5 separate regions of the Homo sapiens genome follow, and regions 1, 2, 3 and 5 are each linked to region 4. The links are contacts of gene promoters, found by promoter capture Hi-C in blood cells and fetal thymus (Javierre and others, 2016). All regions are on one chromosome and are shown on one strand. The core of a region is centred on a gene start or on the middle of the fragment in contact, and the rest is flanking DNA. Distances in the headings are between cores, read along the strand shown.

Region 1 (5,324 bases), core at 1,078-3,577, 300 kb before region 4:
CAGGTCTGATCCGCCTGTCCCCAGTACCCCGGCATGCGGCACTTTTCCTTCTTCTCTTGTGAAAGGCAGATCTGGAAGAAGCTTCTGGGGAAATGCTGTGTTTGTGTCTGGTTATATCTATTCCCCAGACGGTGATTCTTAAACCTGGCTGTGGGTTGGCATCACCTGGGGAATCTTGGTAACAGTTGGGATTCTCTGGCTTCACTCCTGGAGCATCTGCTCCCGCAGGTGGAGAGGAAGATCATCTGCTGGTTTGGCCGCCCTACAACCATTCACCATTCTTTTGGGGTTTTCCTGTTGGGAACTGCTCTTCCTCCATCCCGTCCGTTCACTTACTGAGACCGCTGTGTGCAATTTATTATTTACCCCAGGCACTGGGGATATGGCAGGGAATCTGGAATATGCCCTTGAAACTGGAATTGTGTCTGTCCGTTAGATCACAGTACCGTAAGGCTGTCACTTTCTGATTTTTATAATTGTACTGTGATCCAGAGATTCTTCTTAGGAAATACCCACATCTTGAGGGGTTACAAACAAGAGCAAATTAACTGGAAAAGGGAAGCAAACCAGTGTTGGCTGAACAAACATGAAAATGACTACAATGTTTATCTTCAGTTTTGGGAGAATTGTCATGAAGACTCAACCACAGTGTCATCCTTTGTACAGAATAGGATTCTAATCAGGAGACCAGTGCTCATGTGCACAGCTTTGAGTGTGAAGATCTAAAAATTTTAGTTGGTAGGATGATTACAGATTATTTTCATCTTCCTCTTTACAGATTATTTTCATCTTCCTCTTTAAACTTTTGTATATTTTTCACATTTTCTAGAAGGAAGTTTTAGAAACAGAAGTGGGAAAAAAAACAACTTAAAAAAAGCCCCGGGCCAGGCGCAGCGGCTCACACCTGTAATCCCAGCACTTTGGGAGGCTGAGGTGGGCGGATCACGAGGTCAGGAAATAGAGACTATCCTGGCCAACACAGTGAAACCCCGTCTCTACTAAAATGCAAAAAATTAGCCGGGCATGGTGGCGGGCGCCTGTAGTCCCAGCTACTCGGGAGGCTGAGGCAGGGGAATCACTTGAACCCAGGAGGCGGAGGCTGCAGTGAGCCGAGATCACACCACTGCACTCCAGCCTGGCGACAGAGCAAGACTGTCTCAAAAAAAAAAAAAAAAAAAAAAAGCCCCACTGTTGTGGAATGTCCTGGTCTACCTGGTTTGGACTTAGAAATGCCTTAGGAGTAGCCTGGGCAGTTCAGGTCATTCCTTATCTTCCTGCCATAGGGATTGGTTCAAGGAAGGGAGGAGGTGAGTCAGTCCAATCAGAATTAAGACAGGTCTTTCTCTGGAGCTCCCAGGAAAGAAGAGGAGCTTTCTTCCTATGGAGGTGCCAAGTTGTAGAGTGTAAGCTTAATGCTGCTGGGGGCCTGGGGACCATCTTTGCTCAGAGGGTCGAGTGGAAAGGAGATGGAAATAATTCATTACAGACAAATTCTTTGGGTAACTGAACTTCTCAGTAATGGGAGCCAAAACATTGGCCCTTTTTCCCCTCAAGTCAGTTTGAATTGGGTCTCTGCCACTTGCAACCGAAAGAGTCCTAAGTAATACAGTAATTTTAGTGGACCCTAGAATCTATATTTAAATTTAAAAAATTCTCTGCCAGGCGCAGTGGCTCATGCCTGTAATCCTAGCACTTTGGGATGCCGAGGTGGGTAGATCACTTGAGGCCAGGAGTTCAAAACCAGCCTGGCCAACATGGTGAAACCCTGTCTTTACTAAAAATGCAAAAACTAGCCAGGTGTGGTGGCAGGCACCTGTAATCCCAGCTACTCAGGGGGCTGAGGCAGGAGAATTCCTTGAACCCGGGTGGTGAAGGTTGCAGTGAGCCAAGATCGTGCCATTGCACTCCAGCCTGAGGAACAGAGTGAGACTCTGTCTCAAAAATAAAATAAAATATAAAAATAAATAAATAATTCTCCAGAAATGATTTGTATGAATCAGATATTTGAGAACCACTTTGCTAGACTTTCCTGAGTGGCGGTTCTTAGCTTTATGTGATCAACAGACTGGCCTGGGGAACTTGTTAAAATACAGCAGCTCTGTTCCACATTGCTGGAGATTCTGGTTTGGGGCCTGAGGCCTGGGTATCTGCATTTTGAACACCATCCTGGGTGATTGCATACACTTCAGAGTGTGTGTATGCACAGAGGATTCTTGGCCGGGCACGGTGGCTCACGCCTGTAATCCCAGCACTTTGGGAGGCCGAGGTGGGTGGATTACAAGGTCGGGAGATCCTGGCTAACATGGTGAAACTCCGTCTGTACTAAAAATACAAAAACAATTAGCCAGGCGTGGTGGCGGAGGCCTGTAGTCCCAGCTACTCAGGAGGCTGAGGCAGGAGAATGGCGTGAACCCGCATTCTCAGCTTACAATCCTATCCATAGAGGGGGCCCAGGATCCTTCTCAAATGAATGAAAGTAGAGTTTAAGTCTGCAGTTTTTTTCCTCTTTGGAAAAAAACATTCCTTTCCTGCCCATGACCCAGCCTTGCACACTGGCCGCTAAACCTGGCGTATCGCATCATGTTTCAGGAGGAATTTGGTCAGATCTGTGCACTTTATTAGGATAATGGTTGACCCAGTGTGTACCTCCCCAGGTAACTTTGGAAAGAGCTGGATAGAGTTCATGACCAATTCGGAACAAAGTCTGCTCTTAGGAGGAATTTTGCTAATAGTGGGAAATATTCAAGAGGGTAATCACTGACTTAGTTCAAGGTAATTTAAGGTGAATGCATTCCTCATGTGTGTGTGTGTGTATGTGTGTGCATGCGTGCCAAACTTACTTGAGGTGAAGGAGGGGCGAAAGCCCTTTTACTCGAATGAAAGGAAATCTTTTGAATTGACCTATCGGTTCAGAAAATCCCTTTTCAAATCTTCCCTTGAGCAGCTTTGCTTTTGAGGCCCCTGAAAGCTGGGAAAGAAGGGGCTGTGAGGCCTGACTGACTCCTCGCTGCTGGCTGTACCCCCAGGCACGTGTGATTTTGCCATTGTCTGAAATCTTGCTTTCCCCAGAATTTGTGCCCCATGCTGAGTTCCTACAGCTCAGCCACCAGGAATTAGGGCATGGGTTAGCCAGGATTATTCAAATTTAATCTGATCATCGTTAAACATTTTTGCTTGCATCCTCCCCAAAAGAATTTTGATAAGCCCCTGTATACCTCCTTGTACACTGTAAAGCTAACATCTAAAATAAGCTTATGGTAACTTTAAATTTGTCTTATTTGTGGGAGAAGAAAATAGTACACATTTTGAAGGTCGAATGTAATTGAAATATTTTATGATGTGGTTAGATAAAAAAAAGTTTTTACTACCTTATTGAGTAAAGTACACAGAAGCTGAAAGCAATCATGTAAATTTTTCCCTGGGAATTTTTTCTTGGTGGATCTAGAAAAATTCAGTGGTCCTGAAAAATGTTCCCTTTGAACAAATCAGAGCCACTAACCTATACTGCTTTGACATTCATGATCCTACTATGGTTCAGAAAATCCTATTTTTAAAGCCCAGTTTCATGTTTGGCAGAAAGATACTTAAGTCAGGGAAAGACAGGCAAGTCTGGGGGTTTAAGTAGCTTTTTATTGTTCACTAAAGGCTACTTCCCCGAAACCAATATTGATGTTGTGTGTTTGGAGTCCTGGAGGTTTACACACCTCTCGGTCGTGCTCCTTGGGAAAATGGGGGAGTGCACAACAGCGGGTGGGCAGTGGGGAAGGAGACAGGCTGGTTTGCAGCCAGATCAGTTTTAGGAAGAGGAACTTGTGGATGTTGAGGATCTGAACATTGCTTCCCTTGAAAACACTGTTTTCAAGATACTCCTGTATCTGTTAAGTTTCCGTAAACCCCTAGTGATAAGCACATCCAAGCGTGAAGCCTCTCGGCTTTAAGAACCAGGCGGTTTCATATGGAGTGGGAAGTCCAGAGGTGATTAGGTTACAGAAGTTGTCACCACCACCGCCTGTATGTGTGTATATATACACACGTGCCATAAAAGTCACCCATTCAGAATATGCAATTCAGGCTGGGCGCAGTGGCTTATGCCTGTAATCCCAGTACTTTGGGAGGCCAAGGCAGGCAGATCTCTTGAGGCCAGGAGTTCGAGACCAGCAAGGACAACATGGTGAAACCCTGTCTCTACTAAAAATACAAAAATTAGCCAGGCATTGTGGTGCATGCCTGTAGTCCCAGGTACTTGGGTAGCTGAAGCACGAGGATTGCTTGAACACAGGAGGCGGGGGTTGCAGTGAGCCGGGATCACACCACTGCACTCCAGCCTGGGTGACAGAGTGAGATGCTGTCTCTCAAAAAAAAAAAAAAAAAAAAAGGCCAGGCATGGTGGCTCACACCTGTAATCCTAGCACTTTGGCAGGCCGAGGTGGGTAGATCACCTGAGGTCGAGAGTTTGAGACCAGCCTGACCAACATGGAGAAACCCCGTCTCTACTAAAAATACAAAATTAGCCAGGTGTGTTGGCACATGCCTGTAATCCCCGCTACTCAGGAGGCTGAGGCAGGAGAATCGCTTGAACCTAGGAGGCGGAGGTTGCCGTGAGCCAAGATCGCACCATTGCATTCCAGCCTGGGCAACAAGAGCAAAACTCTGTCTCAAAAAAAAAAAAAAAGAGTATGCAATTCAGCTGTTTTTGGTAAATTTGTGAAGCTGCATAACTATCACCACAATCCAGTTTTAGAATATTACCACCACCCCAAAAGATATCCATCTTGTACCTCTTTGCAGGCAGTCCTTGCTTCCACGCCTAGGCCCAGGCTACCACTAACCTGCTCTTTGTCTCTGTAGATTTGCGTTTCCTGAACATTTCAAATACATGCAGTCATACAGTATGTAGTCTTTTCTGTACCAGGCTTCCGTCACTTAGCATAATGTTTCTGCGCTTCCTCCAGGTGATAGCTCATATCAGTCGTTCATTTGTTCTTATTGCTGAATAATATTCTATTGTATGGGTAAACCACATTTTGTTTATTCGTTAACCATGAATGGATAATTTCATTACCATTATTCGTTAATGGATACTTGGATTGTTTCCAGTTTGGGCTAGTATGAGTAGTGCTGTTATAGACATTTATGTTCAGGTCTTTGTGTGGACATGTTTTCATTTCTGCTCAGGAGTGGAATTACTGGGTCATTTGGTAACTCTGTTTAAGTTTTTAAGAAACTGCCAGATTGTTTTCCAAAGTGGCTGCGCCATTTTCATAGATAGGGTCTCATGATGTTGTCCAGGCTGGAGTACAATGGCTATTCACAGGCGTGATCAT
Region 2 (5,492 bases), core at 27-2,526, 360 kb after region 4:
AAAGGAGCAGAGAGTGAAACTGGGTGAGCCAAAGAGCAGAATGGTGAGAGCTTCGTTTCAAGGGAGTTGATTTCAAATTCAGTTACTATGAAGAGATCAATTTGGGGTACTCTTGGTCAGAAATGGGAATTTTAGATTGGAGATTAGATTAGAGGCTGCTCTGGTCAGAAAAGTGGGACTTAGGAGTGAGGATCATGGTAGGGTTAGCCCAGTCAAAAATGGGGGTCCAGGATGGGAGGTCGGGTTATGGTGAGAAATGGAAGTTCAAGGTTAGAACTGAGGGTGCCAAGACCAGGCGCGGTGGATCACACCTGTAATCCCAGCACTTTCGGAGGCCGAGGCGAGTGGATCACAAGGTCAGGAGTTCAAGACCAGCCTGGCCAAGATGGTGAAACCCCATCTCTACTAAAAATACAAAAATTTGCCGGGCAGGGTGGTGAGCGCCTGTAATCCCAGCTACTCGGGAGTCTGAGGCAGAGAATTGCTTGAACCCAGGAGGCAGAGGTTGCAGTGAGCTGAGATCATGCCACTGCACTCCAGCCTGGCAACAGAACAAGACTCCATCTCAAAAAAGAAAAAGAAAAGAAAAAAAAAGAACTGAGGGTACCCCCATCAAGAAATGGGGACTCCGGGTTAGGGGCTGGGCTGGGTGCCAGGGTGGGTCTGAGGTTCATCACCAGAGATAACTCCCATGGTAGGCCACGATGTTGGCGTGCCGGCAAGTTTTCAATATGAGGATTTCCTTCTGAAGGGTGGAGACATCATCATCTGTGAGGAGGGCGGGAGAGAAAAGGCAGCTCGCATGGGGAGAGAGCTACAGGGGAGGTGATCCCAGTGTCCCAGGAGGCGAAGGTGGGGATGTGGGGAAGGAGCTCCATGTTCCCTCCTCACCAGGCTCCATCTTCACCATCTTCAGTGCCACCAGGTCCCCTGACACCTTGTCTCGAGCCTTGCAAAGGGGAAGTTGGCAGTCAGGCAGGCTCCATTTGCCAGAGTCCCTCCACAGCATCCCTGAGTCAAGGTCAAGAACTGGGACCCCCTCTTGCAGCCTCCTCCCTGCCGAGGGCTTGCCTTAAAGGTCACTGGTTGTAGGGTGTTGGGGACAGAGGGGCTTCCTCACCTTAAAGACTTCCCCATACGTGCCGCCACCCAGCCGCTGTAGCAGGTCATAGTGGTCCCGGGGGTCTCTATTGAAAATGTCAGGGTCCACGACGTCCATCCCTGGGGGCCTGAGCTGGGCCTGCGCCCAGGGGCCAGCAGGGCCTCAGGGCTCAACTTCTGGCACCTCCCTCCGTCCCCAGAAGCCCTGCACCCGCCTTGCCTCCGCGGGCTGTGGCCTCCCCCCTCCTCACTCTCGCTTCCTGCCCCAGCTGCACTGCACGACTGTGCAACGGGCTCCACCCCCCCGTCCCCTGGGCTCTGAGAGCCTCTGAGGGGCAGCTTGTCTTGGGACCCAAGGGACCACCCTCAACCTCCAAGGCCCAGGGCTGGATGTAAATGTGATGCAAATGATCTTAATCGTAACTGGGTTGGAGGGGGGTGCCTTAGAACCCCCGCCCCCGTCTCCTAGGTAGTGTCTAAACCTCTGCTGGGTGCTTGAAGGTTTGGCCACAACCCGAAGGCGGCAGGTCTGCAAAGGGATGGCTATGCAGTGTACATGCCTGTTCACCTGTCACATACATGCACTTGGGTTACCTCCTCTGCACTGCGCAGGCGTGTAGACGTGCATCTGCCTGGATACCTGTGTGCACAGTACACACGTGGATGTACCCAGGACATATACCTCCACATGCATGGCACATAACTGCATTTTGTAGGCCTGCAGTGTACAAAACCTATACATAATATATAATTCATGGCAGTACAAATGGGACGCTCGCCCTCAGCTCCAAGACCGGAACCTAATGGAGACGGGGCGCGATCCGGCGAAGTCCAGGAGCCCTCACCCCAGCCCCTGCCCGGCAGAGCACAGTAGCTTTGTGGGACCCTCCTCCTGGAGCTGGGGACCAAGGGCTGAGACTTGAAACTGGAGAGCTCAGGATCCTGCACCAGGCGCCCAGGCCTGTGGCAAGAGGGACCTCAGAACACCTCCCTCGGAACTTGGCCATGGCCTAAACGTAAGGCTGCTGCGTGCATTCCCGCAGAGCTCCGTGGCCTCATGGCCGCGCGCAATACAACGCGCGCGCACGCCGCCAGAGCTCCGGGTGCTTCCCGGTGAGTTCGCGCGCGCACGCTCCCGCGCTACCGGCACTGGAACTGGGTCTGTGAGGCCCGGGAAAAGCTTAGCCCCGCCCCCTCGCCACGAGAGGCGCCTGCGCACTGGGATCCAGTAAGATTTTTCTCACGCTGTCTGTCCAGCTTGAGTGGCGCGAATGCGCACGCGCCAATTGCGCCTGCGAGGAAGAAGTCACGTGGCAGCCGGAAAGCGTGGCGGCTGCTGCTAGAGCCTTTCCCTTTACCGCACCCAAGGAGCTGGAGCGACAACAACGACGTCGTTTCCGTTTCCACCACCTCTTCCTGTTCCCGTCCTTGAGGACGCCGTGCCGGGTCAGTGTTAGCCTCCAGCCCTGGTTGTGGAAGGCGACAGAAGTCATGGCGATGTTTGAGCAGATGAGAGCCAACGTGGGCAAGTTGCTCAAGGGTATCGACAGGTCTGAGCCCGGTTGGAGGAAGCGCTCTGGCCAAGCGGGGCGGAGGAGAGGGTTTTCCGGAGACAGCAAGGGGTGTTCAGGGTCCTGGGCTTGCCGCGGGGTGGGGTTTCTCTATCCTCCTGGAGGAGGAGATGCTTAAAGAAACGGCACTGAGCTGGGGGTAGTGGCTCACGCCTGTGATCCTAGCACTTTGGGAGGCCGAGGTAGGTGGGTCGCCTGAGCCCAGGAGTTAGAGACCAGCCTGGGCAACAGCCAAACCCCGTCTCTAAAAGAAAGAAACAAAAGCACTGCAAAGGCCTAGAAGCGAGAGAATCTTGGTACCACTCAGTCTCTTCGTAAATTGCCTTAAGGTTTCCTTCTCTGCTCCGCCTCCTTTGAGTGCCTCTTAATCTCTCCCTTCTCTGCTCTATAAGTCATTCATTCTCCACACGTTTACTGAAATAAACTGTCAGTGCTAGGCAATGCTGGGAACCACAGGCGAATCAGACAGCGGCAGATCATGCCTTCACGGTCTGAGTTCCCTTTCCATAAGGGAGACAAACCTGACAGCAGACAGCGATAGCCGGGAGAGATTAGAACTGAAATGGGGGAAGCAAAGGCCAGAGTGTTCAGGTGGACATGGAGGAAGTAGGCAGCGAGGTAGGCAGGAGAGGATGGGGCTGGATCAGGGTGGAGGCCTGAACAGGGGAGGAAGGGGTGAGTAGCAGAGACATTCAGGAGGCCAGGTGTACAAGCTGCAGTGACTGACTGGCTCAGAGGTTGAGGAGGCATCCTAGGGAAGAGCCAGGGCTCCAGTGGAGTTTAGAGCTTAGGCGAGAGGTCTGGGATAAGAATAAGTTTTACTAGAGATTATACTGGACATAATTCACTACCTGGATAGAGCAAGTGGCCAGTGCCAGATTTAGAGGGGAAGGGCGGGAGGAGCAGGTTACAGTGGCCCCTTGCTCCATAAGGTGGCTGGCCTCAGCTTCTGTCTCCTCTGTGCTCACCTATCTTGATTCTCCTTTAGGTACAATCCTGAGAACCTGGCCACCCTGGAGCGCTATGTAGAGACGCAGGCCAAGGAAAATGCCTATGATCTGGAAGCCAACCTGGCTGTCCTGAAGCTGTAAGTGTCTAGCTCTCTGTCTACACTCCCATTGCAGCAACTAGCAGGGTGCCACTCCCAGTACAGGGCAAGGGGGTGGCTGGTAGTATCCTGAACAATGCAGCATCTCTTGGTGTGCAAGACTAGGAAGCCAAGGAAGTTGGGACAGGAGGAGGGATGGTTTTTGAAAAATCAATTGCCGGGCGCGGTGACTCACGCCTGTTATCCCAGCACTTTGGGAGGATGAGGCAGGCGGATCACCTGAGGTAGGGAGTTTGAGACCAGCCTGGCCAACACGGAGAAACCCCATCTTTACTAAAAAATACCAAATTAGCCAGGCGTGGTGCCACATGCCTGTAATCCCAGCTACTCGGGAGGCTGAGGCAGGAGAATTGCTTGAACCCAGGAGGCGGAGATTGTGGTGAACCAAGATCGCGCCATTGCACTCCAGCCTGGGCAACAAGACCGAAACTCCGTCTCAAAAATAATAATAAAAAATCAATTAGGGTGGCCGCAGGGGCTCATGCCTGTAATCCCAGCACTTTGGGAGGCTGAGGCGAGAGACTCACTTGAGCCAAAGAGTTCGAGACCATCCATGGCAACATAGCGAGACCCAACCCTACGAAAAAATTTAAAAATTAATGTAGCGGTGTGTGGCTGTAGTTCCAGCTACTTGAGAGGCTGAGGTGGAAGGATCGCTTAAGCCTGGAAGATTAAGGTGCAGTGAGCCATGATAGTGCCACTGCACTCCAGCCTGGGGGACAGAGTGAGACCCCTCTTTTTAAAAAAAAAAAAAAAAAAAAGAATTACCAATTTGGGTGACATGGCACAACCCTGTCTCTACAAAAATTAGCTGGGCCCAGTGGCGCATGGCTGTAGTCCCAGCTCCTTGGGAGGCTGAGGCAGGAGAATTTTTTGAGCCTGGGAGGCAGAGGTTGCAGTGAGCCAAGATCATACCACTGCACTCCAGCTTGGGCGACAGAGTGAGACCCTGTCTCAAAAATAAATAAAGGTTAATTACAGAACACATGTACAGGCTAATACATTAAGCAAACATGTAGTTTAACAAATCATTATAAATGAAAGCCTACATAATCACCATTTATGTTGCAAAGTTATTGCTAGCACCACAGGCTCTTTGCCCCCTATGCTCTATGCCAACCAATTCCCCTGCTCCCCCATGCTCTCATGGCCTGGCTTTATGTGATGGTTTACTATGCATGCATACATCTGGCTCAGCTCAGCTCAGGTTTCCCTGCTTTGAACTTGATACAGATGGAGTGCATACAGCACAAACTCTTCTGCATTTGCCATTTGCTACTCAGCACTGGGTTTGTGAGATCCATCCAGTGTTTTTTGTTTTTTTGTTTTGTTTTTGATATGGCTGCAGTTTGTTGTCATGGATGTATAGCTCTCCACTGTGTCACTTGTGTGGCTGTCCTAATGATCTCTTCTGGCTCTTGATGGACATTGTGGGTTCTTCGTGCCCTTTTTTTTTTTTTTTTTTTTTTGGAGACAGGATCTTCTGTTGCCCAGGCTGGAGTACAGTGGCACAGTCATGGCTCACTGCATCCTTAGCCTTCTGGACTCAAGTGATTCTCCCGCCTCAGCCTCCTGAATAGCTGGGACTACAGGCATGCACCACCATGCCCAGCTAATTTTACTTGGGTGCTTTCTTTCTTTCCTTTTTTTTTTTTTTTTGAGACAGGGTCTCACCTTCTTGCCCAGGCTAGAGTGCCTTGGCGTGATCTCAT
Region 3 (5,085 bases), core at 282-2,781, 350 kb before region 4:
CTCTACTAAAAATACAAAAATTAGCTGGGTGTGATGGCGCCTGCCTGTAATCCCAGCTACTTGGGAGGCTGAGGCAGGAGAGTCACTTGAACCAGGGAGTCAGAGGTTGCAGGGAGCCGAGGTGGCGCCACTGCACTCCAGCCTGGCGACAGAGTGGGACTCCGTCTCCAAAAAAAAAAAAAAAAAAAGTAGAACTGAAGCAATGAAAACATTTTTCCATTAACCTAACTTGGAATAATATTTTGGATATATTTGGGTTAAATAAAATATTAAAATTAATTTCATAGCTGGGTGAGATGGCTCACGCCTATAATCCCAGCACTTTGCGAGGCTGAGGTAGGAACATGTCTTGAGGCCAGGAGTTCAATACCAGCCTGGGCAACATAGCAAGAAAAAAAAAAGTAAATAATAATGATAAATAAAATGAATTTTACCTGTTTATGTCAAAATTAAAATTGCATATGTGGCTTGCATTACACATAAAAACACACACATATATAATTTTTTTTTTTTTTAAAGAGACAGGGTTCTGCTTTGTCGCCCAAGCTGGAGGGCAGTGGTGCAATCATGGTTCACTGCAGTCTCAAACTCCTGGGCTTAAGCGATACTCAGCCTCTTAAATAGCTGGGACTATGGCCACATGCCACCACGCCTAGCTAGTTTTTTAGTTTTAGTAGAGATAGGGTCTTGCTATGTTACCCGGCCAGTCTCCAACTCCTGGCCTTAAGTGATCCTCCTGCCTCGGTGGCTCAAAGTGCAGGGTATATTTCTCTTAGCTAGTATTGCTCTACATTGTTGTAGTCTGGTGGTGGCCTGATATCCCTACTGGACTGAAAACTCCCTGAAGGTAGGAGTCCAGTCTGTCTGGATTTCTCTTGTGTCTCCATAATCACCCAACCTGACATGGAATAGGTGGTTAATCCATTTTTGTTGAATGAGTGGAAAAATGTGCTCTCCCAGGAAGAAACATATGCTTCCCAGCTTCAAGTGTTAGTGAACATCTTCCTAGAAGGCAGGCTGAGGCGGAAAGGGTATTGACTCCGGCTTCTCCACCAGAGGACCTTGCAATTCCAGTCAATTCCCTCGGTAACTCTTATGGAGGAGTGGCAATATACCTTAAAAAAGGAGTGTGTGTTGCGGGGTATTCCGCTGCTTGGTTATGTCACCAGGTGGATTAAATTTGGACAAAATTTCCCAAGGTGTAGGTACTCTACAAACACTAGTTACCCTCAGGAATGTGCGATCAACAAAAGAATGCAAGATAACAAGGCCCCTAGGCAGCCCCTGGGTCTTGTGGCTCCCGTCGAAGGCAGAGCTCTGGAGCCGCCTACGCCGGGGACAGGCGACTACACCTGGGGCCCCTCACCCTCGGGCCTCCTGCACGTGGCAGGGAAGGCAGGGCGTCTCTATCTCAAAGCATTGGCTGCGCCTGTTACCTGCGACAGGATTCCCGACAAGGGACGGGTACGGCGTGTGCACTCAGGAGCTCCTAGAGCTAGGGGCAGCAACTAAGAAGCTACCTGGCGGATGTTGCGAGAGGACTCCGCCCACAGAACGGTTGGCCCCCAACCCCGCAGCCGGCGGACTTCCCGAGGCCAGGGGTCTGAACGCGCGTGCGCATGGGCGCGCGCCCGGCGCGAGAACGCGCGCGCGCTCTCGAAAGAAAAAAAAAAAAAATCCTCTCCGCGGGGTCCCGCGGCAATTTAGGCCGGGGTCTGCCGACGACCGCGCGTGCGCGGGCGTGCATCTACGCCCTCCTCCACCGCCCCCTCCGCTGGGGGTCTAGCGCACTGCTCCGCTTCCCCCGTTTCCCCCGGGCTAGCGTCCTAGGGGTAAGTGACTCGAGCCTGGCAGAGAGTGAGGGAGAGGTTCCGCCGAATGAAGGGAGGAGGTAGACGGGGCCAGGAGAAAGGAGAAACCGCCCCGGCGGGGCGAAGAGCGCGGCTCTCGAGCTGTAGTCTGCAGGAGACACACCTCCCTCCCTCACGCCCCTCGGGGCTGCGGAAGTGCTCTACAGACTGGAGCTGCACGAAGGCGACCAGCGGACTACCGTTCCTAGGAGGCAGCGCGGCGGTGCGCCTACGGCTCCCGGCAGCCCCCGCGCGCCATTCTCTTTTTGAGTTCGCGGCCGGCTAGGGCGAAACTACAGTTCCCAGGAGGACTCGCGCGAAGCGGCTTGGAAGTGGGCAGCCTGGAAGTCACTCGGGCCACCGGAGCTGGCGGCGTCTCCAGCGAGCGGCGCGGAGCTGGACGCCGCGATCGTGGGGCCCGCGAGGCGGGCAGCCGGGGCGTCCAGGTACGTGGCTCCGGGTGCAGGATCGGCCTCGCGCAAGGGTGGCGGGGAATCGGTGGCTGCCCGGACCCCGAGGGTCAGCGCGGGCGGACGGCCGGGTGTGGGTACTGGCCGTGGGGGGCGGCGGCGCCGGGACTCGCGCCCTCCGGACCCAGCCGGACTCGTGCCCGCATGGCTCAACTTTCCAGGCGTGCACCCCGGCGCTGTGGTGAAGAGCTTGGAGGCGGGGAGCGGTGGATTCGCGTCCCGGCTGTGCCACTCGGGAGCCGCGATCTGGGAAAACCGCGCCGAACCTCAATTTCCCCTGCAGTAAAACGGAGTAGGAGAGCATCTTGGCGGAGACTCTGTTGAGATAATATAATAAAACATTTGGCACATAGGAGGCACTTACTACGTATTTGGGTTATTGTTAGCTCTCCGAAAAATGAGGTGAAGATGTTATCGATTGCATAGGGTGAGGATTAGTTGAGCGTGTGCATGTAAAGAGGTGAGTCCTTAGTTAGCACCCAATGCAGGCTAGCTGCTGTTAACCGAGATTATTTTGTTAAGAGCGTTGGTTTGGAAGGCAGAGAGACCCCAGGTTCAAATTTGAACATTTACCAGCTGTGTGACTTTGGGCAACTGGCTTCACCTCTCTGTGCCTTGGTTTCCCTATCTATAAAATGGGGATTTAAATAGCAACCACTTCGTCGAGTTGTTTTCAGGATGCAGTGAGAATACCATGTGTAAAGTGCTTAGCACAGCAGCTGGCATATAACGCTCAGTAAATGGTACCATTTATTCAGCGTTTTCCTAGTGGCCCAGAGACCCTCTGAGGGTGGGGCTCTGGCCGTAGTATTGGTCACCCCCGAGGGCCAGATTCAGAACTGGTCCAGTTGACTTCCCTTCCTACTACCTCAGGTTCCTCATTTACAAAATGGGATAATAACAAGATCACTCTCAAAGGGTTGTAAGGATTTGCTGAGATTGTATTTCTAGTCCAGCGCCATCTCTCACTAAGTAGCAGCTCTTATGTATTATAATTGTTCTTCAATATTCTCCATCTGGCCCAGAGACTGCCTGACTGTGGGCTGTGACATGACAGCCCTGAGCTCCCCCACACATTTGCTCCCATCCTCAGTGTCCCATCTGTGGAATGGTAGTCATAGGACTTTTGTGCCAGGATTGTTTGGATGGTTCCAGGAGATAATTCATGTTTAGTGCTTTGCACAAGGCCCGGCACACAGTAAGTGCTTATTAAATGATTAAATGTATCTTGCTGTTTTTTTTTTTAATAGGCCCTTTTTGCTTCTGTTTGTACCTACATGGCAGAGTGAGCACAAAGTTAGTGTTTTTTTATCTTCCCCCTCCCTCCCAAATTTTACTTACCAAAGATTAAATTATGGAACACACTATAGTAGAAAGGCCTAAGAAGAAATGGGTCTGACCTGCCATCAGCAGTCCCCTGCTCACACACCCCTCCCCACAGAGCCAGTATGTTCACTCCAGTGCTTTAATTATTGTCCTGGTGCTGCCAGCTTTTGCCTTTGTGTCCCAAAGCCACTGAGTCCCCTGCACTCCAGCTCCAGATGTGGAGCCTGTGCTTCTTTGATGCTGTGGCTCAAAGAAGTGGCTGTTTCTTGGGCACCATAAACTCAGCATGTCCAACCTGAACTCCTTCTCCTCCTGGAACCAGTAGTCACCATCTTGGCAAATGTGCCAGCATTGACCTGGTTGCCTAAGCCAGAAACCTGGGAGTTGCTCTTCTTCCCCAGCCTTCCCATATCCAGTCAACTAGCAAGAAGGACGAAGCTGCCATTTCATAGAAACACCATTTCATTGGCCCATATTGGTCTCCCATCTGATGGGCACTGAAAGTTCCCCTCAGCTTGAGACGGAGTCTTGCTCCATAGCCCAGGCTGGAGTGCAGTGGCACAATCTCAGCTCACTGAAGCCTCCGTCTCCCGGGTTCAAGCAATTCTCCTGCCTCAGCCTCCTGAGTAGCTGGGATTACAGGTGCCCGCCACCACACGTGGTTAGTTTTTTTTTTTTTAGTAGAGATGGGGTTTTCACCATGTTGGCCAGGCTGGTCTTGAACTCCTGACCTCAGGTGATCTACCCATTTTGGCCTCCCAAAGTGCTGGGATTGTAGGGCATGAACCACCGCGCCTGGCTGTGACAAGGTTAAGTCAAGTCATTAGGGATTAACATACGTAAACCTATGTAACATATGTATTAATAAGGGCAAGAAGATGTTATAGACTTGGCTAGACAGCAGTGGCTGTGGATGTGGCATGAAAGCCTGGCTTTCAGGGGACCCAGTTCTGTGATTTTAGCCTGGTAAAGATCGGCTGAGTTGTTAATTTCTTTCAGAAAAGTTAGATGGTGTCAGCGGCTTAGAATATCCCGTGTGGGAGGGTGGCCATCCTGGGCATTTCAGGAGGCAGCACACATACCACACACCCAAGAAGAGGCTGGGAAGGGAATTTATTAGCGCTCCCCTTAGGTTGAGTTTATTGTCAGAAACCTGTCATTGTGATTTCATTTGATGATAGAAACCGGTGGCCTCAATCACATTTGTGATGGCCAACAAATTTACCTAAGCATTTTGCTAACCTGAAGAAGTAAAGCAGTGGCTTAAAAAAAAAAAAAAAAAAGCAGCACGTGGCTTTTTAGCAGTCAGTGTAGAATGAATGATCTAAGAGTTAAATGTGAGTCTGTGTTTCAGACATTGCAGTTGTTAGGTGGTAAATCAAAAGTGGAATTTAGAATGTGCAGTGATTGGTGCCTCATTTTTTTGCTGTAAAATATAT
Region 4 (5,871 bases), core at 3,372-5,871:
AGAGAGAGACATAAGGACAGAGAAAGAAACAGAGACATGTGGAGACAGGTCCCCAGAGATAGATCCAGGGCGAACAGAAATGCAATGACGTTTGTCCCTAGAGCTAGTTGGAGAAACATGAATAGTTTTCCCTTTTAAAGCAGGGAAGGAAGTGGGAGGGGTTGGGCCGCTCAGCTTCAGGGCCTGGGAGGATGGAGGGCCCCCAGAGGTGGGGAAGGGAGCCCGGGGTGGCGGAGGCAGTGACAGGGGAGGACAGAGGGAGACTGAGCCCGAAGGCTGGTGGCCAAAGGACAGGCACAGGAGAGGCAAAAACAGGGCAGATGGGGGAGGACAGAATGGAGCCCCCTCAGCAGATGGGGGAGAGAGGGAGAGAGACAAGTAGGAGGACAAAAGACACCCCTGGAGACCAGAAAGAGCTGCGGAGGGCAGGTTGGGGCCGGGGGTGGTGGGGCCGGGTGGTGTTCCCCAGAGACCCTTCTGCCAGCTTCTTCCCCCTCCCCCATCAGAGTACTTGGGGCCAGAACAGGGAGAGAATGAGGGAGAGAAAACTCACCTCGACAGGTTTCCCACATGACTTCAGGAGTCCCTAAAACCCCCAACCAAGAACAAAACAAAACAGTAAATGACTAACACCTACTCCCCTCCAGCCCCTTCCCTTTCCCAAAAGGCCCCAGCAGCAAGACAAATGGAAGTCAGACTCCAGGGTGGACTGCCCACCAAGCTTCAAGAGAGGAACAGAGCCCAAGGGGCATGTGGATCGACTCAGGGCAGGGGTGAGTTACTAGATCCAGAGAGGGCGAGAGGGTCACACAGCACTTCCCTCCTCTAAAAAGGTATAAGCCATAAGCAAAGACATGGCTGCCAAACTGCCTGGGTTCGATGCCCAGCTCTGCTCCTTCTGAGCTGTGTGACACTGGGCAAGGGATTCAACCTCTCTGGGCCTCATTTTCCTCATGGGGAAAATGGAGCTCACACTAGCGCCTGCTTCGGAGGGTTTTGTGAGGGTTAAGTGAGTGAATACATGTAAAGCCATCACACCAGTGCCCGGCATCTAGTGAGCACTCAGTAAACACGTGAACTATTGCTATTATTTTTAGGGAGGTGCAAAGTGGGAGGCTGGGGGACACGTCCCCCCACCTACCTGGATTTTCCGGCTTCTCTCCTCTTCACTCTCTAACTCCAACAATTCATCAATGTTGATCTCATCGGGCATGTCTGCCTCCTAGGGCCAGGGAGGGAGGGGTGCTTAGGATCCCCTTCCCTCCCTCCCTCGCCTTTGTCCAGGGCTCTGCAGGAGCCCCACCGGCCCCAGGGCCCAGCTGGCGGGTTCTGGAGCATTAATGTGGCAGTCCGGGACAGCACTGCCAAGACGGGACATCTGGGTGTTGGGGGGGAGGGGTGACAGATGGGCTGAGAGAGCCCCGGGGCCCTGTACCAGCCCGATGCCTGGGCCCATGGGCCCCGGGAGCCTCGGGGCTGGCACGGGTCTCTCGCCTTGGCTCTAGTTCCCACAGAGGAAAACAGGCCTAGTGGAGTCCTGGAATGTCAGATTCTGGGATTCGGGAGAGGAGCTGGCTTCTGCCCTTTCAAGGAAAAGTCTTAGCACTAGGTGCAGGGGAGGAGAGGCTGGCAGCCAGCAGCCAGCTGGGGCGGCCCCTTCCCCCAGGGGACAGGAAGGGAGGGGACAGGAAGGGAGGGGACGGCTTGGGCCAGCCCCCAGAGGGCCAAAATGCAGCCTGGTGAGACCGAAGGGAGGACCACCGAGGCCCCTCAAGGTGGGTGGGTGGGATGAGTCATGGCTCAACTCAGCTGCTAAGAGCGGGGCGCTGAGTGTGGCCTCTACAGGCAGTGGCCCAAGCGCAGGCTGGCTCAGTACCCCTGCTGGGAATAGGACCCAGCTGTCCCCAGCTGTCGAGGGAGCAAGAGAGCCTTGGGGTTATGAATCCTTTCCTCCCCAACCCAAAGTCCGGCTGTCGGCTTCAGGCCTGGGGCTTCAGGGCTGGATGGTCCTGGTTCATGTGTGGTGAAGGGGCTTCAGCAAGGACACAGGTGTGTGAGTCTCTGCCAGGGCCACAGCCTGATGCCAAGGGCCTGGGGCTGGCCGAGGATGCAGAGGGACCTGGCATCGTGCAGTGGCTTCGTATAGTGGACTGTGGTCCTGCAGGTGTGAGGTGTGTGGCTCTGGCTTGGGTGTGTGACACATCAGCATGTGTCCACAGTCAGCTGTGGGGCCCACCACCTGAGAATGGCCTCATAGATGCCACCTGCCACTAGCAACCAGATTGGTTCACCTGTATGGGCCCAGGTGTGAGTCTGAGAACAGAGGGACTGCATGTCACCATGGGAGAAGGGCCATGCCTTCCACCATTGTCGCACCATGAAGAGGAGGACTCGTGGGTCCTGTGTACACTGTAGCATACAGAAGTCACAGAAGGCCAGGCGCAGTGGCTCACGCCTGTAATCCTGACATTTTGGGAGGCCGACAAGAGAGAATTGCTTGAGCCTAGGAGTTCAAGATCAGCCTGAGCAACATAGCGAGGCCCCATCTCTTTTTCTTTTTTCTTTTTTTTGAGACAAAGTCTCCTTCTGTCACCTAGGGTGGAGTACAATGGCGCGATCTTGGCTCACTGCAACCTCCGCCTCCCGGGTTCAAGTGATTCTCCTGCCTCAGCCTCCCAAGTAGCTGGGATTACAGCTGCCTGCCACCATGCCCGGCTAATTTTTGTAATTTTAGTAGAGACAGGGTTTCACCATGTTGGCCAGGCTAGTCTCGTACTCCTGACCTCAAGTGATCTGCCCACCTTGGCCTCCCAAAGTTCTGGGATTACAGGCGTGAGCCACTGTGCTCGGCCAATGAGGCCCCACCTCTAAGGAAAAGAAAAAAGAAGTCACTGAAAGTGTGACTTCAAGCAGAAACTCAAGTGATGAAGTACCTGTGTGTGTCAATACATGTAGCTGTGGCTTAGGCTCTTGTGTGCCTGTGAGCAGCGGTGGGTTCTGCAGTTGTATGTCCACCTGTTCCTATAGCTTACAGTTTTTTGTTTGTTTGTTTGTTTTTGAGACGGAGTTTCGCTCTTGTTGCCCAGGCTGGAGGGCAATGGCGGGATCTCGGCTCACCGCAACCTCCTCCTCCCGGGTTCAAGCGATTCTCCTCCCGAGTAGCTGGGATTACAGGCATGTGCCACCACACCCGGCTAATTTTGTATTTTTTAGTAGAGACGGGATTTCTCCATGTTGATCAGGCTGGTCTCAAACTCCTGACCTCAGGTGATCCGCCCGCCTCGGCCTCCCAAAGTGCTGGGATTACAGGCGTGAGCCACCGTGCCCGGTGCTTACACAGTTTTATGTCTGGGTGTAGTTATAAATTCTGTTGGGTTTTGTTTGTTTTTGAGACACGGTCTCGCTCTGTTGCCCAGGCTGGAGTGCAGTGGTGCAATCTTGGCTCACTGTGACCTTGGCCTCTCAGGCTCAAGCAATCCTCCCACCTCAGCCTCCTGAGGAGCTGAGATTACAAGTGCGTGCATGCCACCACGCCCGGCTAAGTTTTAAGATTTTTGGTAGAGACAGGTTTTCCCCATGTTGCCCAGGCTGGTGTTGAACTCCTGACGTCAAGCAATCCTCCTGCCCCGGCCTCACAAAATGCGTGAGCCACTGTGCTGGGCCAATTTCTGTTGTTTTATGTCTTTGAGTGGCTGCGGATCAGCGCTTGTGCTTGAAGGTGGTCAGTTTTTTCTTTAGGAGATAAGGAAGGGCCGTAACTTGAGTCATTTTGTGTTCCAGTGGGGTTGTGCTGTGTCTGCCTACGGCTGTGGCCCATGCCGCTGTGTCTGCGGGTGGCTGTGACTGTAGCATATGTTGAACTGTAGGTGACCCCCCCCCAGCCCCCGCTTGTGTCCTTGTGGGTTTGTGCATGGCTGTTACTTCTGGGCTGTGTCCGTGAGTGGCTATAGCTTCCTTCACTGTGCACATCTGTGTCTGCTTTTGCTTCCTTTGCCGTGGGTCTCTGTGTGGCTGTATCTCCCCTGTCACCATGTCTGTGTTTGGCTTTATGACACCCCCCTTCCCCCACTCTTTCTCCAGACGTGGCGGTTTCAGCTCAACTTAGCCTCCTCCCTCCTCATGCTAAACCCCTGGCCCTCCACAGGCGTTTGGACACATCTCTGGAGACCCAAGTCTTTGTGTGTTGCTCTCGGTGTGTCCACAAGCACAATGCCATAGAGCACGGATGGCCAGGCCAATGAGTGCCCGGCCCTGGGGCGCTCGTCCTCTTGTGCAGACCAGGCTGGCCGTGCACCAGCGAGTGTGCACCGAGACCCCAAGGGCGTGGGGTCTCCGCGCCCGGGCTCTATCTGTCCCCGACCACCCCCGAGCCCTCCCCGGGCTCACCATGCCGCGGTACAGCTCCTCCAGGCGCCCGTCGATCCACTTCTCCACGTCCAGCCGCCGCTGCAGCTCCCGCCGGTCATACTTGACGGTGACGCGCGCGTGCCGCTTCTGCAGCCCCCCGGGACTGCCCCCTGGCCCGCGGGCCCGCGATGGAGACTGCAGCTTGCTCAGCACGCGCTTGCCCAGCCGCTGAGCTGCCATCGCGCTGCTGGACCCAGCCTGGCCCCGCGCTGTGCGCCTTCGCCTCGCGCCCCGGGTGCTTCTTACGGGCCAGGGCGGGGCTAGCCGGGGGCGGGGGCTCGGGCTCGCCGGGAGGTCTGCCCCACCCCGGCCGCCTCAGGCCTCAGTTTCCCCGTCTGCAGTGCGAGAGTAGGCCGCTGCGTCGGCTTGAGGCACGCAGTCGTGCGAAGTTGAGGTATGGGCGGGGACCCAGAGTCCCGGGCGGGTCCCTGCATCGGGGGCTCCCGGGCCGGGATCCTGTGGGGCGGGGGCCTGGGACAGACACTCGGGACCCGGCCTGTCTGCGCCCTCTGGCGGTGGCGGGGTGGGGGGCTGTTGGTGCGGGAGCGCCTGCGCCGCTGTCGCTGTAGAAGGTCGAGCGGTCACTTGTTCCTTCGTTCATTCATTCACTCATCCATCCATTTGTTTGTTCACTCATTCCGTTCAACGAATTTTTTTTTTTTTGAGTCGATGTCTCTCTTTGTCGCCCAGGCTGGAGTACAATGGCGCGATCTCGGCTCACCGCAACGTCCGCCTCCCAGGTTCAAGCGATTCTCCTGCCTCAGCCTCCGAAGTAGCTGGGATTACAGGGATGCACCACAACACCCGGCTAATTTTTGTATTTTTAGTAGAGACGGGATTTCGCCATGTTGGCCAGGCTGGCCTCGAACTCCTGACCTCAAGTGATCTGCCTGCCTCCGCCTCCCAAAGTGCTGGGATTACAGGCGTGAGCCACCGCCACTGGCCCGGTTCAACGAATATCTATTAAGTATCCACTCTATACCAGACACTGCTTTACGCTCCAGGGATAGAGCAGGGAACAAAACAGACAAAACCAGTCCCACGCAGTTGACAGTTGTAGCCGGGATACATGAGAAACACAGTAAGTACGGTATTATACAGTTTATTATCATATAAGTGCTTTGGAGAAATATAAAGCAGAGAAGGAGAAATGGAGTGAGGGTAAGGTTGCAATTTTAGCGAGGGTGGCCAGGGAAGTCCCTTACTTCAAAACAGTCTTCTCACTTCTAATTATAAGCAGCAATAATTATACTCTAAAATTTAAATGTGGCTGGGCGCAGTGGCTCACTCCTGTAATCCCAGAACTTTGGGAGGCCAAGGAGGGTGGATCACGAGGTCAGGAGTTCAAGACCAGCCTGGCCAACATGGTGAAACTCCATCTCTACTAAAAATACAAAAATTAGCTGGGCCTGGTGGCACATGCCTGTAATCCCAGCTACTCGGAAGGCTGAGGCAGGAGAATCG
Region 5 (5,469 bases), core at 2,528-5,027, 370 kb before region 4:
TTCTGGGGGACTTAAGTTGGTACAGGTCCATGAGCTGGTAGAACTGTTCCATCCAAGCAGTGCTGTCTTTTGGATATCGCTGCTGCAGCATCCGCAAAACATGGTACAGTGCCACAAATGTCTCCCACAAAGGCAACTCTTCCTTTTTTTTAGAAATGGGCTGTGTCTTCTTCTCTAACTTGGGCAGTTTAGGAAACCTGCGTTTATCCTTAAAATCCCAGAAGTCCTTTTGAAACATCAGTGCCAGGGTTTGTTTTTCCACAGAGGCATGGGCACTTGGAAAAATGTCTCTGGTGGCAGGATAAAAGTATTGCATTTCCATCTCCTTGTGAGCAATGGATATCTGCTGTGCCCTCTCACTTCTGTAAGGTTCTCCTAGAAGATGCCAATTTTTAGCCCTTGGGTCTGGAATCCTCTTGGTAGCTAATGGGGACTTTTGTGTGGGGACAGCCAAAGGTTTTGGCCAGCTCTCCTTTTCCTTTGCTTTTATAGGAGGAATCACTTTCAGGTATTTTGGACTCATGGACTGTCTACTTGAGATCCTTGTGTCTTGTGACTCCAGGGCCTGTCTGTGACGGTACACAATGGCTTCATGTTTGGCCAGATGCAGCCATTCTAAGTTTCCCTTTGAGGCAAGGTCTTTGAGCAGCTGGCACAGTCTATGGAAACCATCCCTGGAAAGCTGTTCTCCCGCTTCCATTCGTTCTAGGACATGGCGGATCCACTCTACATCTGAGAGGCTTACGTCTGCATGTTGTTCCTTAGCTGGGATTTGGGAGAGAGGTAACTGTACCTCAGTCTGTCCCATCAGAGGTGGATGCTGCAAAAACCACTTCCACCAGGCACCTAGTGGTTTGTGTTGGAGTTCCTCAGCTTCCACGGTCCTCCTTAATATGTGGGACATAAATGGGGTCTTTAAGTCCTGTGCTTGGGACTCCAAAACTGTACCCAAAACATGTGGAGGTATGGGTTCATATTTTCCCATCACTTCTCTTTCTTTATCCATTGTCCCTAAGAATTTCCTGGGTATTTCAACTACTGTGGCCTTTTTATCTTCCCAGGATATTTGTTTCTCCGGCACTGGCACTGGTGTTTTCTCTTTCATCTCCAGAGCTGTTGACATCAGTTTCTTCAAAGGGCTTTTTAGAACTCCTAGTCTTATAGCCCTGCCTTTGCCATGAGGAACTCCTCTTAAAATGGAAAGGACTCTTTCCCTTCCTCTTAGGCTCTTTCTTCTTTGTTCTTGTAACTTAAATTGTTTTTCTTTTTTTAAGATCTCTTTTTCCCTGTCCACCTCTTCTTCCAATGAGCAGCTCTCCTCTTCCTCTTCCTCGTCACTCAAACTTTCTGTCTCTTCCTCACTCATAATTTCTTCTTTCTCCTCAAACACTTCTTCCTTCTCCTGAACCTCCTCCTTCTTCTTTTCCTTTTTCTTCTTCTTCTTCTCCTCCTCTTCTTTCTCCACTTGCTTCTCCTCCCCTTCCTCCTCCTCCTTCCTTTCCTCCTCCTCCTCCCTTTCCTCCTCCTCCTCCCTTTCCTCTTCTTCCTCCCTTTCCTCCTCCTCCTCAGAAGACAAACTCTCTTGCTTTTCTAGTTCATCTAACAGGCTTTCCATTTCTTCAGAAAAATGCTCTTCACTTTCCACTTCATCCACTTGACTGGAAAACTTTTCTTTTGGTTTGTCACCTCTCTTGGCCTCTTTCCTCTTTCTCCACCTTCGTTTAAGGAATGGGATTACCTCTTCTTCTTCTATTCCTCCTTCCTCTTCATCATCCAGTATGACTTCTGAATGCTTTCTGGCCAATTTGCTCTCTTCCTCAGTCATTTTTTCTTCTTTGTTTATCATTCTTCTCATTTTGTTGGCCAGTTTTCTCTGCTTCCGAGCCAGTTTCTTCTCATCTTTAGTCAGTTCTGATCGTTTTTCAGAAAAATCCCACTCTTTGATATCCAGCTTACTCTGTTCTATACTCAACCTGCGCTCCTTAACAAAGAGTGCCCTCTTCATCTTTGTCATTTTTATTTCTTCCTGTGTTAGTTTCCTTTCATCCCTGGTTAGTTTTTGAAGTGCCTTTAAGATTTTGTTCAGTTTTGCTGGTTCCTTGGAAAGGCTCTCCCTTTTTTTAATCAACTTCCTTGAAGCCTTGGCTAACTTTCTTTGCCCCTGGACAAATATTCTCTGTCCTCTAGTAAATTCCAGTTTTCCTTTGGCAATTTCGCTTTCCTCCATGGCCAATATCCTGTCTTCATGTAGCAGTATCTTCTCCTCTAGTGACAATTTTCTCTCAAATAGTTCTTGTTCAACTTGAGTCATTTTCCTTTGTCTAGAAGTTTCTGGAGTCTCTCCCTTAGACAGTGTTTCTTTTCCCTCAACCAGTCTCATCTTCTCCTCAGCCAGTCTTTTCATTTCCAGGTTCAATGCCTTTTCTTCCTTAGCAATATCCAACTCTCCTCTGAGCCGTTTCTTTCCTTGGACCATTGCCTTCTCCAGAGCTAATTTCATTTTTTCCTGGGCCAATTTCTCCTGTTTTTTGGCCAAACTATCCTCTACTTGGACCAATTTTTTCTCTGTTTCAGCCAGTTTCTCCTTCTTCTTGATCACAGTCTCCTTTTCCTGTGTCAGCTTCTCCTCTACCTGAGCCAGTATCTTGTTGAACATTCCCAATTTGTTCTTTACTTGCACTAATTGCTTTTTGCTGTGGGTGAGTCTTTCTTTATTATAGAGTAGGTTCTCTTTCCTCTGAGCCAATTTTTCCTTCTCCTGGGCCAGATTCTTCTTTTCCTGAGCCAGATTCTTCTTCTGGTACAGTATCATCTTGTTCTTTGTGAGTTCTTCCATGCTGTTGATCCATCTTTCCCTTTTTTGGGCCAGTTTCATCTTCTTCTCAATCAATTGCTCCCTTTTCCGTCCCAGTCTTTCCTCTTCCTCAGGCATTTTTTCCTTGTGCTGGGCCAGTTTCTCCTTTTCCTGGATCAGCAACTCTTCTTCCTGGGCCAGTTTTGTCTCTTCTTCAGACAGTTTCTCCCTTTGCCAGGCCAATGCCTCCTCTTCCTCAGCCAGTTTCTTCTTTTCCTCAACCAGTTTCCCCTCTTCCTGATTCAGTTCCTCTTCTTTCCAAGACAGTTCTTCCATGTCCCATTCCAGTTCCTCCAATTCCTGGGCCAGCTCCTTTTCTTGCCAGTCCAGATTTTGTTCCCTCTGGGGCAGTTCTTCCACTTTCTGGGCCAATATGTTTTTCACCTCAGCCAGTTTCCCTCCTTTCTTTGCTAGTTTCTCTTCTTCTCTAGCCACTTTCTCCCATTTCTTGGCCAGTTTCTTCCTTTTCTGGGCCAATTTCTCCGCCTCCTGGCTTAGCTTCTCCCCTCTTTGGGCCAGTGTTTCCTCTTTCTGGGCAAACTTACCCTCTGCCTGGGCCATTTCCCTGTCATCCTGGGTTATTTTCACGTATGCCTGGGCCAGTTTTCTCTCTTCCTGGGCCAACTGTCTCTCTTCTTGTGCAAGTTTCTCTTCTTCTTGTGCTAATTTCCTCTCTTCTTGGGCTCGTTTTTTTTCAGCTCGGGCTCGTTTCCTGTGTATTCTGGCCCATTTGTGTTCTTCTTGGATGTGTCTCTGCTCTTCTGTGACCTGCTGTTCTTTTTCTTCCCCCTCCCGAGACACTTCTTCCTCCAAAGTCACTTCTTCCTCATCCTTGTACTGTTGCTCCTTGGACTTAGATGATAACATATTTTCCCAGACTTGTTTCCACTCCTCCCATTTCAGCTTCTTGTCCTCCTGAAGCATTTCCTCCTCCGGGGATAGCTTCTCTCCAGCCTGATGTAGTTTCTCCTCTTCCTGAAGAAGCCTCTTCTCCCATTCTTCCTTCCATGCCTTCCAGGATTTCCTTGTCTCACCATGGACCTGTTTCCACTCATCCCAGGCCTTTTTCCAGTCCTGCCAAGATGGTGTCCTCTCAATCATAACCAGTTTTCCTTCTTGTTTGACCACTTTCTCCTCTAGTGTGGCCATTTCCTCCACTTCCTCACTCATATCCCTCTCTTCTTTGGTCATTTCCCTCTTTATTTTTCCTACTTTTCTTTCCTTCTGGACAGCTTTCCTCCCTTGCTTAGGTGACTTCTGAAAGGTTTTCTTCTCTTCTTTCTTTGATATTTCTTTTCCCATGGTTACATTACCTGGTTCTAAAAAAATAACTTTCTTGCCCTTTTTCAAAATCACTTGGGTTTCCTCCAAGCCCAGCATGTCTCTTGCTTTCTTTTGTGCTTGTTCTTCTTCCCTTGGCATCACTTCCTTGTGTCTGATCACCTCTTGGGTCACACCTTGTATCATGTCCTCTCTAATTGCTCCTTCCTGGATAAAAATTGGTTTCTTCTCTGGCGGGACTACATCCCAATCAAGGTCCTCAAGCAGAACCTTACTTTCTTTCTTCAATAGGGGGCAGATCTCCTGAAAGAGTTCCCAGCTGGGGTGCCTATCTACCAGCATCTCCTGAGCAAATGTCACTAGCTCAGCGTTTAGGTTTTCTGACATTTTTGTTTGGGAACCAGATATCCTCAGGGCCATAAGACGACATAGATCGTCCCTCCATGATGAGCCATCTCCAGCGGTTGACCTGCGGCCAGATATTCCAGAGGCTCCCCGCCCTTGGATTTTAACCTTTTTAGTAACTGGCTGTTCCATTACAGGAGGTGTAGTTTCCTCATTTATAACTTTGGCTTCTTTTCCCTTCTTTTTGTGCTTCTTTTTGAGTTTCTGAGCTGTTGCTTTCTTGTCTCTTTTGTCACGTATTTTCTGCAGCCTCTTCAGGGTCAATGCAATGTGATCCTTCGAGATATCTTTCTCTTGAGAATCAACATCTTTTGAGAGCTTTATTACACTGGTGCTTGAAGACCATTGGGAATAGACGGATGCTTCCTCCATCTCAATTGGTGCGGCCTCAGTCCCACTTTCATCCTCTAAGAGGCCTGGCTCTGTGCTCATCTGTTTAGAGTCTCTCTCTTTCGTCTTCTTGAGACCCCGCAACCATTTTTGGCCTGCAGTAAAAATCGAGAGATGGAGGTAAGCAAAGTATGGGAAGCGACATGAAACCCTTCCCAATATTAGGTGTGAGCTAAGAAGAACTGTCATATAAGAAGTAACAACAGAGAGAACTGAGGCCTTAAAAAAAAAAAGCATTCTCTTTGCTTTATTCCTAGCCCCCTACTCCTGCCAAATCCTAGAGAGCTAGGCCTTAGAGTCTTCCTGAGTTTGAGTGGATCCTTCCTTAGAAAGTCTTTTTTTTTCATTGCTTTCATAAAAATCAATTTTACTGAGGTATAATTTAAACAGGATATACCCATTTTAAGCAAACAGTTTGATGAGTTTGAAAAATGTATACACTTTTGTAATTACTGCAATCACAATCAGGATATAAGGCATTTCTATTATCCCCCTAAATTCCCTCCTATATAGTGTCCCAGTCAACATCTATCTACCCT

The links. Contacts are between HindIII fragments. The CHiCAGO score rates a contact against its expected background, and 5 or more counts as called.
Region 1: a fragment that was not itself captured here is called in contact with the fragment with the promoter of PPP1R14A in region 4 in 2 of 17 cell types (naive CD8 T cells and monocytes); the score reaches 5.2 in naive CD8 T cells.
Region 2: a contact is called between the fragment with the promoter of MAP4K1 here and the fragment with the promoter of PPP1R14A in region 4, in 1 of 17 cell types (neutrophils). The highest score is 6.6, in neutrophils.
Region 3: the fragment with the promoter of WDR87 here is called in contact with the fragment with the promoter of PPP1R14A in region 4 in 3 of 17 cell types (naive CD4 T cells, M0 macrophages and non-activated CD4 T cells); the score reaches 5.8 in naive CD4 T cells.
Region 5: a fragment that was not itself captured here is called in contact with the fragment with the promoter of PPP1R14A in region 4 in 6 of 17 cell types (naive B cells, non-activated CD4 T cells, naive CD4 T cells and 3 more); the score reaches 8.6 in naive B cells.

Annotation. Positions count from the first base shown.
Region 1 is chr19:37,950,735-37,956,058 of GRCh38, forward strand. The region is part of intron 1 of SIPA1L3 (signal induced proliferation associated 1 like 3); the gene reads left to right. Among named protein-coding and RNA genes, the nearest start is that of SIPA1L3, 46 kb to the left of the region's middle. The HindIII fragment of the contact is 1,843 bases long and covers 1,407-3,249 here.
Region 2 is chr19:38,616,677-38,622,168 of GRCh38, forward strand. MAP4K1 (mitogen-activated protein kinase kinase kinase kinase 1) reads right to left here and starts at 1,277. Exons shown (of 31, transcript NM_001042600.3): 1 at 1,121-1,277; 2 at 892-949; 3 at 678-768. The coding sequence starts at 1,219. It overlaps EIF3K (eukaryotic translation initiation factor 3 subunit K), which reads left to right and starts at 2,512. Exons shown (of 8, transcript NM_013234.4): 1 at 2,512-2,651; 2 at 3,661-3,759. The coding sequence starts at 2,593. RefSeq lists an enhancer at 1,801-1,850. The HindIII fragment of the contact is 13,708 bases long and covers 1-2,279 here.
Region 3 is chr19:37,905,063-37,910,147 of GRCh38, forward strand. WDR87 (WD repeat domain 87) reads right to left here and starts at 1,532. Exons shown (of 6, transcript NM_001291088.2): 1 at 1,437-1,532. It overlaps SIPA1L3 (signal induced proliferation associated 1 like 3), which reads left to right and starts at 2,146. Exons shown (of 22, transcript NM_015073.3): 1 at 2,146-2,296. RefSeq lists a silencer at 2,258-2,497 and an enhancer at 2,798-2,857. The HindIII fragment of the contact is 21,411 bases long and covers 1-5,085 here.
Region 4 is chr19:38,251,753-38,257,623 of GRCh38, forward strand. It overlaps PPP1R14A (protein phosphatase 1 regulatory inhibitor subunit 14A), which reads right to left and starts at 4,622. Exons shown (of 4, transcript NM_033256.3): 1 at 4,387-4,622; 2 at 1,142-1,222; 3 at 554-586. The coding sequence starts at 4,587. RefSeq lists a silencer at 4,414-4,601. The HindIII fragment of the contact is 11,548 bases long and covers 720-5,871 here.
Region 5 is chr19:37,885,252-37,890,720 of GRCh38, forward strand. WDR87 (WD repeat domain 87) reads right to left here. Exons shown (of 6, transcript NM_001291088.2): 6 at 1-5,025. All of the region lies in intron 4 of LOC105372395 (a long non-coding RNA gene), which reads left to right. Among named protein-coding and RNA genes, the nearest start is that of WDR87, 19 kb to the right of the region's middle. The HindIII fragment of the contact is 9,115 bases long and covers 1-5,469 here.